4 separate regions of the Homo sapiens genome follow, and regions 1, 2 and 3 are each linked to region 4. Evidence: promoter capture Hi-C in human tissues and cell types (Jung and others, 2019). All regions are on one chromosome and are shown on one strand. Each heading gives the region's core, a stretch centred on a gene start or on the middle of the fragment in contact. The rest is flanking DNA. Distances are from core to core; before and after follow the strand shown.

Region 1 (3,295 bases), core at 130-2,629, 170 kb after region 4:
TGGCGCCATGAACTGTGACCTTGCAGGAATGTGGCACCTCCTGAATTGCAAATGTTAGAGACTAATTTAGCTTTTTAAAGTTTACAGGCCAGAGGGCAAAAAAAAGGGCCACCGCTCGCGCTGTTTGCAGACAGTTCTGGTAGAAGAATCCTAACGCTCAACCTGGATCTCTAAGTGAGTGCTGGTTGGGAGGAAAGGATGTCTGGAGTTGCTAGAGGCCTGAGAGTCCATCTTGCACAGCGGCTGAAGGAAGAAACACTCTGGGGTGTTCTGTCACTTGATGGGACAAGAGCAAGGCGGCCTGTAATGCCCACGCAACACCATCTGTCTCCTACCCAGGGGCAGCCAGATCCACAGCCCTGTGCCACTCAGCCCCGGAGTGGGTGGCAGCCCAGGAGGCCCTGCTGCCCGCACAGGAAGCACAGATGAGGACTGCCTCGACCCCACGAGGAGGCGCAGACCACACCTGCCTCATGGCCTTGGGCCTGCATGCACTTTGATGAACTCTGGGGGTGCTCCCAGGGCCTCTTTCACCATTCAGGGCACTGAGGGCCTAGCGTGGAGGCCAAGCAAGAGCAGCTGTGACTCTGGTGAATGCCTGCTGTGGGCTGCGGGCTGCGCACTGGTGCCTCCGCGTTGAGCAGGGTTTGGGAAGAGCCCTGCCTTCGCAGGCCCCCCGACCCCGGTCGTGGGGAGCCAGGCATTACCCAGGAAGCATGTGCTGCCCATGATCACGACGAAGGCACTCTGCTTGGGCATTGACCTGGTCTGCTCTGGAGTCCAGGGGAGGTCCCTGAGAAGAGGGGGCTGTGCTGGGGTCTCAAGAAGAGCTGGAAGGGAGAGCAGCAGCAGCTTGAAGTCACAGCTTGCGGGGTGATGGGGCCAGGGGCAGGCGGTGGGCATGCTGACTTGCTGGGGAAATGTCATAAAAGGCAAGGGGATGCCTGGGGTTGGTTTAGGTTGAAAGCAAACAGTTTGGGGAAGGGAGTGAGAGTGGCTGTGGGGAGACCAGGTGGGTAGTGACTGAGGTGGAGAGAAAGGGACAGCACCAAGATGACCAAACAGACACCATCCCACTCCTGCAGACGCAGGACAGACTCTGGTCTTGACCTTGGGGCATCAGTCCACAGCCAGGCAGCCCACTGATGGTGACATTCCCCCCACCATGCTCCCCGAAGCCTCGGCACACCAGGGTCTGATTCACCGTGTACAGCCAAGGCAAACACTGGAGTGAGTGGCGTGCGCGAGACCCAGGGGCTACAAGGGAGCAGGGGAGGTCAGAGGGGTCTCCAACCAGACTTCCAGGTTTCCCTAAGCAGACTTCTTGCCAACACAGCACACAGGTGCTGCTTGACAAACGTGAATGAATGCACCTATGCCAGGCAATAAATGATGTCAAAGGAATGCTGGGGGACTCTGGGACAGAGCAGCAGCGTATCCACACCATGTGTGCCACCAGGATCCTAGAGGTCTTCCGGTGCCACGCCTGTACCCCACAAGCCCAGCCCTGACCTCTGCATTTGCCTCCCTGCCAGCTGCCAGGTGACAAGATGCACAGGAAGGAGCCAGGGTTTGAGCCAGCTTGGCACTCTCCAACCCCATTTTCTTTAGGGAGCTACCCACCCCTCGTCCCCCTGTCCCCCAGTTCAGATGGAGCCAAGCTCAGCCCCAGCTCCAGGCCTGACAAGAAGAGTCCCGCATGCATCGTCTAACACATGGCACATGAACAAGGCCAGGCCTTTCGCTGGAGATCCTGGGGCTGCTGAGCTGCTGGTGAATGACCCTGAGGCTGCCAGCAATCCCATGTCACCGAGAGGGGCCTTGGACCAGAGCCAACCAGAGGTAGCAGAGTCACAGAGGGAGGGGGAAGACTAAATCTGGCCTGTGTTCGGCCCTGAGTCAAGCTTGGCCCAAAGCTAACTCTGCCCCCAGACTTTTCAGTGAAGCCAATCAGTGCTGATTTTTGCTTAAGCCAGTTTGAGCTCGATTTCTGCCCCTTGTCGCTAACAGACTCTGGCCTGAGAGAGGCGCGGTCCAGCCACTGCAGACTGAATTACACACATGCTGCACTCCAGCATCTGTGGAAGAGACCTTGGACAGGCCTCAAAGTGACGCTAAGATGCTTTCTTTCTCTTCACAGCAAGTGTCACTGCCTGATCCACTCCATATTGATGGGTTTATGGTCTGTCTCACCCATTAAGATATAAACTCCATAAGATCCGAGACTGCTTTGTTCCCCTGGGTACCCCATGGCCTGAGAACAGTACTTGGCACACTTTATGGATTCAACAAACACTTCATGAAGGGGGAGGGAAGGAGGACATTAGTGAAAATGTGAGGCGAAGACACTTGGTGCCAGGCTAGTAAGGAAGGGCTAGAAGAGAGAGAACCATTTGGATGGGAGAGGAGTGCGCGCTGGTGTTGAGAACCGTGTCGGTGGATCTGCAGGTGCACGGAAGGGACTGCAGCTATTTGAGTAACTATGGGAGGCCTGGGCAGGCTGTGGTGCCAAGGTGCTGCCCGGAGCCTTCTGGACACACGGCAGGGCTGAGGGGCATGGGCCAGGAGAGGGCCCCTCTGATGGAGCAACCCTGTCCTGTGCCTGGACATGTGACCCAGCTGGAGACAGAGGGAGGCTATGGAAGGGGACGTGAGGGTCAAGCTCTGAAAGGAGCCACCCAGAGAACAGAAAGCCAGGGTGGAGTCCAATCAGATCCTCCACAATTGCCTCCCATCTCTTGTTCCTGTACCCACCCCTGCCACCATTCAGCCCTCCTTTCCTTCTCTGCCTCTACTCTCACTCCCTTAGATCTGGCCTCCACAGAGCAGCCAGAAGCACTATCATGAAACACACACTTAAAACTGCAGTGTTGGCCGGGCGCGGTGGCTCACACCTGTAATCCCAGCACTTTGGGAGGCCGAGGTGGGGGGATCACGAGGTCAGGAGATTGAGACCATCCTGGCTAACACGGTGAAACCCTGTCTCTACTAAAAATACAAAAAATTAGCCGGGCGTGGTGGCAGGTGCCTTTAGTCCCAGCAACTCGGGAGGCTGAGCTTGCAGTGAGCCAAGGTTGCGCCACTGCACTCCAGCCTGGGTGACAGAGCGAGATTCCATCTCAAAACAAAACAAAACAAAACAAAACAAAAACTGCAGTGTCGGCCGGGCACAGTGGCTCATGCCTGTAATCCCAGCATTTTGGGAGGCCGAGGCGGGAGGATCACCTGAGGTCGGGAGTTCGAGACCAGCCTGATCAACATGGAGAAACCCCTTCTCTACTAAAAATACAAAAAC
Region 2 (3,655 bases), core at 845-3,344, 160 kb after region 4:
GCCCTGCTCGAGGCTGGAGGGGAAAGGTCTGTGGGGAGAGAGACAGGAGGGAGGCCGTTGCTCACAGACCTCAGAAGCGATCATGAGATTTGTAACAGAGCTCAGCAGCACAAATGGGTCCAGACACACGGCTTTAGTAACTGATCACCTAAAGCAGAACCTGCCTCACCGTGGCAGGCTCTGTGCCCCCATCCAGACCACCACCTGCTAAGCGACACCCCAGGAATAACCAACATCGTGCCCTTCCTGAGGACCCTGAAACACCAAGCCCCTCTGCAGGATGAGACCAGGTGGTCGGCTCAAAACAGTTTGCTTTTAGAGTCAAAATGCCTTGTTGAAACGGGGCCATCAACTCAATGCTGAGAGTTATAAGAACCCACCTCTTCCCTTGACACGGACATCACGCCAGCAGCTAACTTATCTCACAATGCTTTTGAAGTCGGCAATGAATTTATATATGGTAGGTTGGGTTACAGAATTCAGGTTGTTAAACTCGCTTGTTAAATCTTTTATGAGGAATTTCAGCCACGTGGGAGAAACTTTCAGGAAACCTTGGAGTTGGTTCTCCAGTGAAAGACCAAAAAGGCAGGCTCCATATTCTTCAGAAAGGGGGAGCGGCTTTCCTTAAAATTTTAAAGCTGGGGGCCAGACGTGGTGGCTCACGCCTGTAATCCTAGCACTTTGGGAGGCTGAGGCGGGAAGCTCGCTTGAGGTCAGGAGTTCGAGACCAGCCTGGCCAACACGGTGAAACCCTCGTCTCTACTAAAAATACAAAACATTAGCTGGGCATGGTGGCACATGCCTGTAATCCCAGCTACTTGGGAGGCTGAGGCAGGAGAATTGCTTGAACCCAGGAGGCAGAGGTTGCAGTGAGCCAAGATCGCCCCATTGCACTCCAGCCTGGGGGACAAGAGTGAAACTCCGTCTCCAAAACACACAAAAAGTTTTGAAGCTGTGATTAAACATATTTATCTAGGTAGGTCTGAGCAAAATTAATGTGAGAATGCACAAAAAAGAGGTCTAGAAATTCACCAACTTCACAGGCGTTACCTTTGGGATGGCAGGGTGAGTGGGGAAGGGGCAGGGATTCTTTTTAGTTGAAATATTTCTGATTTACTTTAAAGAAAAAACAATTATGGGCCAGGTGCGGTGGCTCATGCCTGTAATTCCAGTACTTTGGGAGGCCGAGACAGGTGCATCACCTGAGGTCAGGAGTTGGAGACCAGCCTGGCCAACAGGTGAAACCCTGTCTCTACTAAAAAAATACAAAATTACCCCGGCATTGTGGTGTGCGCCTGTAATCCCAGCTACTCGGGAAGCTGAGGCAGCAGAATCACTTGAACCCGGGAGGCGGAGGTTGCAGTGAGTTGAGATCACACCACTGCACTCCAGCCTGGGCAAAAAGAGTGAAAGTCTGTCTAAAAAACCAAAAAACCCCAATTATGAATGCATTACTTGTATAAAATTTTGAAAAATGAGTGATACATTTCTTCACAGGTTGTTTTTAGAGGACTTAGAGCTCCATGCAACCAGGCCCTGCTTGCAGAAACAAACATGAGGGCTTATGAAGCCTCATCTCACGCCAGATCCCCAGACTATGAGCTGAAGAGTTGGGGGAAAAATTTTAACAGCTGAAGAAGAACTGACTTTAAATGCCCGCTGAAGATCTGATTTTCCCACACCAATTGCTTTTCCTCCCAGGAGAACCCCCAGGCCGGGCGGGAAGGCAGAGGGGCCGGGGCTCACTTGGCTCTGAGTCGGAATTGCCTGCAGATGGCTCGCAGAAGCTTGATGGCATAAAAACATTGTTTTTTGAAACTGTTGACAAGGAGGTGCAGGCGGGGGAGGGAACAAGAGGAAAAACAGCATGAATGGGTGGGGTGGACGCTCAGAGATCACCTCTCCCACCTGAGGGGTGGATTCTCACGTCCCACGGGAGGAGACGGAACAGCACGCAAACAGGGCATTCAGTCTTTCCCGAGAACAGCAAACCCCAAGACTCTTTACAGCACTACGAGGGTCTCCAGCCCGACGGCCTTGATCTGTCTGATGACTACAGTCAACTCTGGTCAACTGGGGGCACCCCCTTGTCCCTGCACCTCTGCAGGGGCAGCCGGCAGGGGAGATATCAGATGCTCCAGGCCACATTGGAGGCCCTGACTCCTCCTCACCTGTCAAGGCTTGTCCATGGGGTTCCCCCTCCCCCACCTAAGATCTTCCTTCACCAGGGCAACTGCTTCCCAGGGTGTGGGCCAGCCAACAGGTTTCCACAAATGAAGTGGAATTCGTAGGGGAAGAACTCACTCTACGCAGAATGGAACCAAAGACAACACTGTTCAAATTATTGGTGCCCCTCACGCCTCCAGTTACCCTGGAGAGCTGAGTGTCTCTTGGGGGCTGCTGCGCTGGACGGGAGGTGATTTGAAGAGGGCCGGGGAGAAGAATGGTGGTCCCTCGCCTCTTTAGCCTACATTCACAGCCCAAACACCTCCTCTTCTCTATGCTGGTTTTCGATACAGCAAGCATGGTTCAGCAGTGGGCAGTGAGGGGGAAGGAATAAAATCAACGAGCAGGAAGTGGAGCTCCCTCATTCCACAGAACACCTATCCACAGGTGCAAAGATCCTTAAATTAAAAGGATGCCAACTGCAGCCTGGACTGCAAGCCATCTGGACAGTTCCGCAATATCCAGTCAGCAGATGACAGTGTAATAGCACTGGAAAACCTAATGCAGCTGTGCAAAAAGACGCGGCCATGTCCAAAACCAACGTGATGGGAAAAGGGCATGAAAACAAGGGTGTGGAGGGGTGACTTGGGAAGGACCCTGGCTTCCTACGCTGTGTGTTCCTGTAACGCATGCGTGACTTCTGTAAGCAGAAACAACTTGACATCCTGAAGGTTCAGGACTGTAAAATGATTTACATGAACTTTCCAGGAATGGATTTCAGTTGGGTAACCAGAGAACCTGTCTAAACACTCATGTATGTCCAAGTTGGCACTACAGACAGCTAAGACAGAGGCCACGAGACAATGCCAGAGTGGGAAGTCAAGACGGGGACGAGAGAATAGCCCTGCAGTGGCATTTACCCTCAAATCTGCAGAGTTGTGCCCATGGCAGGAGGCCGGGCTTTCTGAGTGTTATATTAAGTAGTGCTGACGGCATTATCTGCCTCAGGAACCTCTCTCCTGTACCAGCCTGCATGAGTCCCCAGGCCGACCTCCAGGCCTGTGCTCAGACCAGGCCTCACGTCCAGGGCCTTCAAGCCCTTTAGCCTGCCCTGCTCCACAGTCCGAGCCTGGCCCACCCTTCCAGGCCCCCGCAAGCTCCTCTCCTCTGGGAGTTCACAGCATCACACACGGGCCTCTGCTGGGGCCTCCTGGCTTGCTGGTTACCGTGTGTGTGTGCATGCTTGTGTGTACATGCGTGTGTGTGTCTGGGCTACTGCACTGGACTGCCCGTGCTGGGCATGCAGCTGAGGGGTTGGGAGAACACCCCACCCCTAAACCCCCAGTCTGTGTCCAGCCTTGGAAAGAGGAGATGTAATTAACAGGCAGAGGCCCCAACAGGGCTCTCAGTAGTCAACCCCTTTCCTCCATTTCAGAGGGACGATCTCTTCACAGTCTTCCTCAGGCCACCAAGTCTCACCATGCCGTCA
Region 3 (3,351 bases), core at 531-3,030, 130 kb after region 4:
TGTATTTATAGTAGAGACAGGGTTTCACCATGTTGGCCAGGCTGGTCTCGAACTGCTGACCTCATGATCTGCCCGCCTCGGCCTCCCAAAGTGCTGGGATTACAGGCGTGAGCCACCGTGCCCGGCCAGTTTATTTACTTATTTTTAAGAGGCGGGCGTCTTGCTCTGTAACCCAGGCTGGAGTGCAGTGGTGCGATCATAGCTCACTGCAGCCTCCAACTCCCGGGCTCAAGTGATCCTCCTGCCTCAGCCTTCCAAGTAGGTGGGATTACAGGAACACACCACCATGCCTGGCTAATTTTTTGTAGTTTTTGTAGAGATGGGGGGGTCTCACTATGTTGCACAGGCGGGTCTCAAACTCCTGGGCTCAAGTGATCTTCCTGCCCTGGCTTCCCAAAGTGTTGGGATTACAGGCATGAGCCACCGCGCTCAGGCAAGGCAACTTCTGACAATATAATTGTGCTGTGAGCGAGGTAAAGCCAGGCTTGGAGAAGGCTCCGATTGATGATCCTTGGGTCGGGGCGAACAGTGGGTCCTCAAACAGGGCCCACGTTTCAAGTCCTGGAAAACCCACCTATCTTAGCGGGCAGGTATATCCGATGTCTCCGTTGAAGGCCTTCAGTGAGGTGGCTTCGTCTCTTGAGGTTTATGTCCAGGATCAGGGCTGCTCTTCCACTCGGGGTCACAACCTCTGGCTCACCACCTTGTCAGGAGCCAGCCCACTAAGTCACGTTTCAGGCCTGAAAACCAACAACAAAAGATCCGTAAAGACAGAAATCCTGGGACTGGCTCCTAACAACGGCCAGTGACAAGCTTTGTGGCAGTGAGCAGAGGTGTCCCTCAGGCTCAGCTCAGTCTCTGTGGGTTGCAGGACCTGCCCTTGGAGGTGGGCCTGGGTGGGAGGTCTTAGGGCCCCAGGACCTGGGCCACCTGGGGCTTTTTTTTTTTTTTTCTTTTTGAGATGGAGTCTTGCTCTGTCGCCCAGACTGGAGTGCAGTGGTGCAATCTTGGCTCACTGCAAGCTCCACCTCCTGGGTTCAAGCGATTCTCCTGCCTCAGCTTCCTAAGTAGCTCGGATTACAGGCGCCCACCATCATGCACGGCTAATTTTTGTATTTTTAGTAGAGGCGGGGTTTCACCATGTTGGTCAGGCTGGTCTCAAACTCCTCACCTTGTGATCTGCCCACCTCGGCCTCCCAAAGTGCTGGGATTACAGGCATGAGCCACCGCGCCCAGCCCACCTGGGGCATTTTTGTTGCTGTACAATAGAAACAAGTTCTCTATATGTTCCCCAGGCTGGTCCAAACTCCTGGGCTCAAGTGATCCTCCCACCTAGACCTCCCAAAGTGCTGGGATTTCAGGCATGAGCCGCAGTGGCCGGTCAGAACCTGGGGCCCTTTTGAACTTTGATTCCTCAGCAATTTTGTCAGCCCTGGCTCGGGCTGAGAAGCCCCTGTGAAGCCAGAGAGGGAAAGGGACCTGTCCAGGGTCACACAGGAATCATGCGTCAAGCCTCCCCAGCCACGGACTTGTCTCCATCCAGGGCATTTCAGCCCCTGCAGGGCAGTGGCCTGCCCCTCCTCCTTGGAGCCAGGAAGGGATGCAGTGCCACAGGGATCTGGCTCTGTCCCAGGCCCTGTGGGGCTGGCAGTTGAGTAAGCAGTCAGGCTGGGCGCACCCATCCCTCCCCCACTCCCCACTGCCCAGCACAGTGCATTCATGCAGCTGGGCCCCACCCCATCTCCAGAGGCACCTTCCACTAGCAACAGTCTCCCCAGGCACAACACAGCTAACACAAGGCCCCGCAGGCAGGACTCTGGGACAGACGCAGGCCAGGTGAGCATCTGAACAAGGGGCAGTCGGCCAGGGTGGGCTTGCGGGAGTCCCCACCTTGACCTCTCTCCCTTCCAGCTGCCCAGAGCCCAGACCAAGCATGGACGCCGTGGATGCCACCATGGAGAAACTCCGGGCACAGTGCCTGTCCCGCGGGGCCTCGGGCATCCAGGGCCTGGCCAGGTGAGCTGTCCCCTCTCACCTTCCTGACCCCGGCCCCTGAGACCACTGTTCCAACCGTGTCCCCTGCCTCCAGGTTTTTCCGCCAACTAGACCGGGACGGGAGCAGATCCCTGGACGCTGATGAGTTCCGGCAGGGTCTGGCCAAACTCGGGCTGGTGCTGGACCAGGCGGAGGCAGAGGGTGTGTGCAGGAAGTGGGACCGCAATGGCAGCGGGACGCTGGATCTGGAGGAGTTCCTTCGGGCGCTGCGGGTGAGCCCCCACCTCACAGTCAAGGCGTGTGCCCTGGGCATGGGGCGACAGAGGATGCTGAGATGCGGAGACGGGGACTCCTCCCTAAGAGCTGCTGTTAAGAGGCGCCTGCTGGGGCATACAGCCCCAGTGCTCTGCACAGCGTCTTGGGGGTTTGGGTGTGCTACCCACCACCCCCAGTCACCACCTCCTGTCCCAGCCCCCCATGTCCCAGGCCCGGGAGGCTGTCATCGCAGCTGCATTTGCCAAGCTGGACCGCAGTGGGGACGGCGTCGTGACGGTGGACGACCTCCGCGGGGTGTACAGTGGCCGTGCCCACCCCAAGGTGCGCAGTGGGGAGTGGACCGAGGACGAGGTGCTGCGCCGCTTCCTGGACAACTTCGACTCCTCTGAGAAGGACGGGCAGGTGGGTGGCTGCGCGGGGGGCCCCCTCCCCAGGCAGTTCCTCGGCCGTGCCCCCTCACGGCCCTCTGTTCCCAGGTCACACTGGCGGAATTCCAGGACTACTACAGCGGCGTGAGTGCCTCCATGAACACGGATGAGGAGTTCGTGGCCATGATGACCAGTGCCTGGCAGCTGTGAGCAGCTCCGGCTCAGCCCTGCTGCCCTGGCCTGTCACTCCCCACCCCTGCCGGAGACCTCCCTTCCCTGGGCCCCTTCTCTCCTGGGCAGCCACACCACAGAGCGGGGAGGGGCAGGTGGGGGAATGGAGGCTGCAGGACTGGCTAGACCAGGTCCCTGCCGGTCCACCAGGCGGAGGTGGGACAAAGGTCCTAACAGGAGTCACTGGCTCAGGACCCCAGGGAGAAACGCTCTCCCCACCCACGCCATGCTGACCAGAGATCTTGCAGCCCCTGTGGATGCCCCCGCCGAGGTCCCCCGATCCCCGCACCCGGACTGCTGCTCCCTGCCCCTCCCTTGCGGGTCCCCCAGGAAGCCAGGTGACCCCAGGTGGGAGGCTGTGTGTGGAGGCCATCCTGGAAGGAAGTTTAGACCTGCCCAGGTGTGGAGCGAGGGGCACAGGGGCATCCTAACCTCAGAAACTGAAATAAAGCCTTTGAAAAAAAAATCTGTAAAACATCAA
Region 4 (3,263 bases), core at 325-2,824:
TGAAGTTGAAGAAGTAGTCAACGTTGGACACGGTGTCCAGGATCTCAGGCACGCTGTAGTCAAAGGACAGCAGCTCCTCGGGCAGGCACAGCGAGCGGATGTCATCGGCTGAGTTCCCACCACTGCTGTCAGGCAGGGCCGGCCCAGGGACCTCGCACAGGGTACCCTCAGGCTCAGAGGCGCCTGGCAGGCAGTCGAAGAGCTTCATGGCGTCCTCCAGCAGAACCTTGTCAGGCAGTGCCAAAGCTCTGGCCGTCTTGGGGGCCTTGGCCTTGCCTGCTCCCAGCAGGGCCCCCTCCTTGACCTCGGCCACCTTGAGCTCGCTGAGGCCCGGTGGGTACAGGGGCACCCCAGGTCGGGCCCCACTGCCCTGCAGCTCCTTGACGGGGAAGGCCAGGGGTTCGGGCCCAGGGAAGTGGCCGAGGTGACCCTGGAGGTGGCTGTAGGCGTCTGGGGGCAGTGTGGGCTCTGCAGGCAGCGTGATGAGTACAGGGGGCGGCTTGTTCTCCTTGGGGGGTGGGGGTGGCAGCGGGGCCGGGCCTTCCTCTAGGGGCGGTAGGGGCAGCTCCACGAAGGCGGCGGGCCCTGCGTCCCCCACAAAACCCAGAGCCTCTGGCCCGGGGCCCTCAGGCGGGAAGTAGGGCAAGAGAAACTGGGGCCCCCCGGGTGCCTGCTGGTAGTGGGGGTATGGAGGCAGCCCCGGGGCCTTGAGGTAGGGCTGAGGCTCCAGGAGGTAGCTGCCTGGGGCGGAGGGGACCCCCGCTGGCCCCCCGCTGCTTGCTGCCAGCTTATACAGGGCTGACTGGCCCAGGTCGGGGGTGGTCCACTCGATCCGATAGATGCGGGGGTCGAAGAAGCACCCGCATGGGGCCATCTGGAAACCTGTGGGCGGCAGGCGGGTGCCCTGAGAGCAGCTGCTGCCTGAGGGGCCCAGCCCAAGCCTGGGGGCCTGTTTGGGAGATGCCACAAGAACCTTGCCATTGGGGGGCCCCTTTGGGGGACGACATAGATATTGCTTTGGGGCCCTGGCTGGGTGATGGATGACACAGAGCTTGTCTTTGGGGCTCATCTGGGGGACCTGTGTGAAGCATGGGGAGCAGAGGCCATGCCTTCAGGCTCCCACTTAGGGACGGGGCAGGGGCAAGATGGGCCTGCACACTCAAACCCACTCCCAGCCTCGTCAAGGGCTCAGGGGAGGCCGGTACCTGCTGGTGGGGCTGGAAACACCTCTTTCTCTGGGTCTGGGGGATGATACAGGTTCAAGGAGCCTGTGGACAAAGGTGCCCAGGTGGGTAGGGCCCTTAGGCGGGTGGGCCCCTGAACCCTCTCCAGCAGGTGCTCCCACCCACCCGATCGTACCCATAGCGGGAGGAGGCTCGGCACAGGTGGGAGCAGGCTGGTTGCCCAGCACCTCAGCCCCCTCCAGACTCTGCGGGCTGAAACCTTCCTGGGGAGCTGCAGGGGCACAGAACGGTTTGGGGTGCTGCATGGGGCAGCGGGGGGCCCGGTCCAGACAGGCCAGGAGGGCGGCAGTGGGAGTGCAAGTGGCCCAACCGGAGAACAGGCTGAGAACCTGGTGGGGTTCTGTTTGCCTGGTTACTCGGGGCAGCGGGTTCCAGCCTGCAGCGCGCCCACTGGTTGGGGTTCTGGGTGTTGGGGGCAAGCAGGGGCAGACGTTGGCAGACATGGTCATCACCATGGGAGGGAGGATTCTGGGCCAGGCCTTTGCCTCTTCCAGCAACACCCCCCTAACAGCTTTGAGGCCGCCTCCTCCAGGCAGGCTGCCCTGATCCACACCCACACAGGCTGAGGCCCCCCGGGTCCTCAACCCGCTACCTTCTTGGGGGTCAAGGCCTCTCTGGGCACCAGCAGCACCCAGCTTGGGGCAGGGCCCATGGAGGCAGCTAAGAGGTTTGGGGAAGGTGGGGGCCGAGGAGGGGCTGCTTCAGGGTCACAGAAAGGCCTGGATTTTAAAAGAATAAAATTTATTGTACTCTCCTCGCCCCAGGGTGCCCCTGGGAAAGCCTGAGGCTACTTGTACGCGTTGGCCTTGTGCTTCGGCAAGAAGGCGAAGCTGGGGGGCACTGGCCCAAGGAGCATCTCGCTGTGGGAGAGCAGGTGGAAAGCGAGGTCAGGCCCAGGACCTGCAAAGTACCCTCCGTGACCCCGGGCCCCCGACTGCAGCTCCCCAACTCCAGCCCACCCAGGCACCTGATGCGGATCCAGTCGGCTGCCTTCTGGCTGGCCATCAGCGTCTCCAGGTAGTCGCGGCCCAGGTAGTAGGGCGGCCGCTCGTTGATCCTCTGTGGGAGCCGCTCCAGCAGCCCCACGGGCACGTACCTGCGGCGGGTGGGCGGGCAGGACAGGCTTGAGTCAGCTCTAACCAGCCGCGGCCCACGCGCCGCCCACCCCAGCCAGCCCCGGTGCCCACCGGCACAGGAAGGACAGCCACTCGAGCAGAAAGCGCCGGGTCTTCTCCACGCCCTGCGTGTCCGAGCCCCAGTGCTCCAGGCCGTAGTTGGTGAAGTCCCGCAGGATGTCCAGGCGCTCGGACGACGAGATGTCCCAGTGCCGCTGCTCCTTGATCTCCGTGAAGAGCCACGGCTTGAGCAGGGCGCCACTGTGGGACGGGTGACGATCAGTGGGCCCAGCCACCAGCCTGCCTGGGATCGTGTGGCCTCTGCTTCCATGGCCTGGCCTGAGCCGGAGCCCAGACCACAAAACCTACAAGCCTAGTAAGCCTCCCAGCTGCATGCACACAACCTTCAAAGCACAGGACTTTCTTTTGTTTTTTCTGAGACGGAGTCTGGCTCTGTCGCCCAGGCTGGGGTGCAGTGGTAAGATCTCGGCTCACTGTTCAACCTCCGTCTCCCAGGTTCAGGCAATTGTCCTGCCTCAGCCTCCCTAGTAGTTGGGATTACAGGCGTGTACCACTACACCTGGCTAATTTTTGTATTTTTAATAGAGATGTTTCACCATGTTGGTCAGGCTAGTCTTGAACCTCCGACCTCAAATGATCGGCGTGCCTTGGCCTCCCAAAGTGCTGGGATTACAGGCGTGAGCCACACACCTGGCCAAAGCCCAGGACTTTCAACCCACAATCATCAGATCCCACAGCAGCAGCAATTTCCAGTCCCCTCTGCCGCAACGCAGCTGCAACTCCTGACATCGCTCTCTGCTCCTCCCATCTTGGGACCAACAGCCCACCACAGAACAGGGGTGGGTGACGGCGTGTTGGGTTCAGGGCACTGCTGCTGTGCATG

The links. The method cuts DNA at HindIII sites, captures the fragments that hold promoters and counts their contacts. A contact is called where the count stands out against the background at its distance.
Region 1: a contact is called between a fragment that was not itself captured here and the fragment with the promoter of PRR22 in region 4, in 1 of the 25 tissues and cell types used here (dorsolateral prefrontal cortex).
Region 2: a contact is called between a fragment that was not itself captured here and the fragment with the promoter of PRR22 in region 4, in 3 of the 25 tissues and cell types used here (dorsolateral prefrontal cortex, mesendoderm cells and stomach).
Region 3: the fragment with the promoter of CAPS here is called in contact with the fragment with the promoter of PRR22 in region 4 in 8 of the 25 tissues and cell types used here (H1 embryonic stem cells, adrenal gland, bladder and 5 more).

What each region holds. Positions count from the first base shown.
Region 1 is chr19:5,958,290-5,961,584 of GRCh38, forward strand. The region is part of intron 1 of RANBP3 (RAN binding protein 3); the gene reads right to left. Among named protein-coding and RNA genes, the nearest start is that of RANBP3, 18 kb to the right of the region's middle. RefSeq lists enhancers at 1-510, 1,160-1,808, 2,457-3,106. The HindIII fragment of the contact is 5,100 bases long and covers 1-3,295 here.
Region 2 is chr19:5,937,765-5,941,419 of GRCh38, forward strand. All of the region lies in intron 5 of RANBP3 (RAN binding protein 3), which reads right to left. Among named protein-coding and RNA genes, the nearest start is that of CAPS, 25 kb to the left of the region's middle. RefSeq lists a silencer at 2,010-2,190. The HindIII fragment of the contact is 7,736 bases long and covers 1-3,655 here.
Region 3 is chr19:5,912,474-5,915,824 of GRCh38, forward strand. CAPS (calcyphosine) reads left to right here and starts at 1,781. Exons shown (of 5, transcript NM_004058.5): 1 at 1,781-1,836; 2 at 1,912-2,016; 3 at 2,090-2,267; 4 at 2,467-2,673; 5 at 2,748-3,351. The coding sequence starts at 1,934. The coding sequence ends at 2,849. The HindIII fragment of the contact is 10,666 bases long and covers 1-3,351 here.
Region 4 is chr19:5,783,172-5,786,434 of GRCh38, forward strand. It overlaps PRR22 (proline rich 22), which reads right to left and starts at 1,575. Exons shown (of 3, transcript NM_001134316.2): 1 at 1,360-1,575; 2 at 1,206-1,268; 3 at 1-882. The coding sequence starts at 1,489. DUS3L (dihydrouridine synthase 3 like) reads right to left here. Exons shown (of 13, transcript NM_020175.3): 11 at 2,432-2,620; 12 at 2,212-2,340; 13 at 1,969-2,104. The coding sequence ends at 2,032. The HindIII fragment of the contact is 36,623 bases long and covers 1-3,263 here.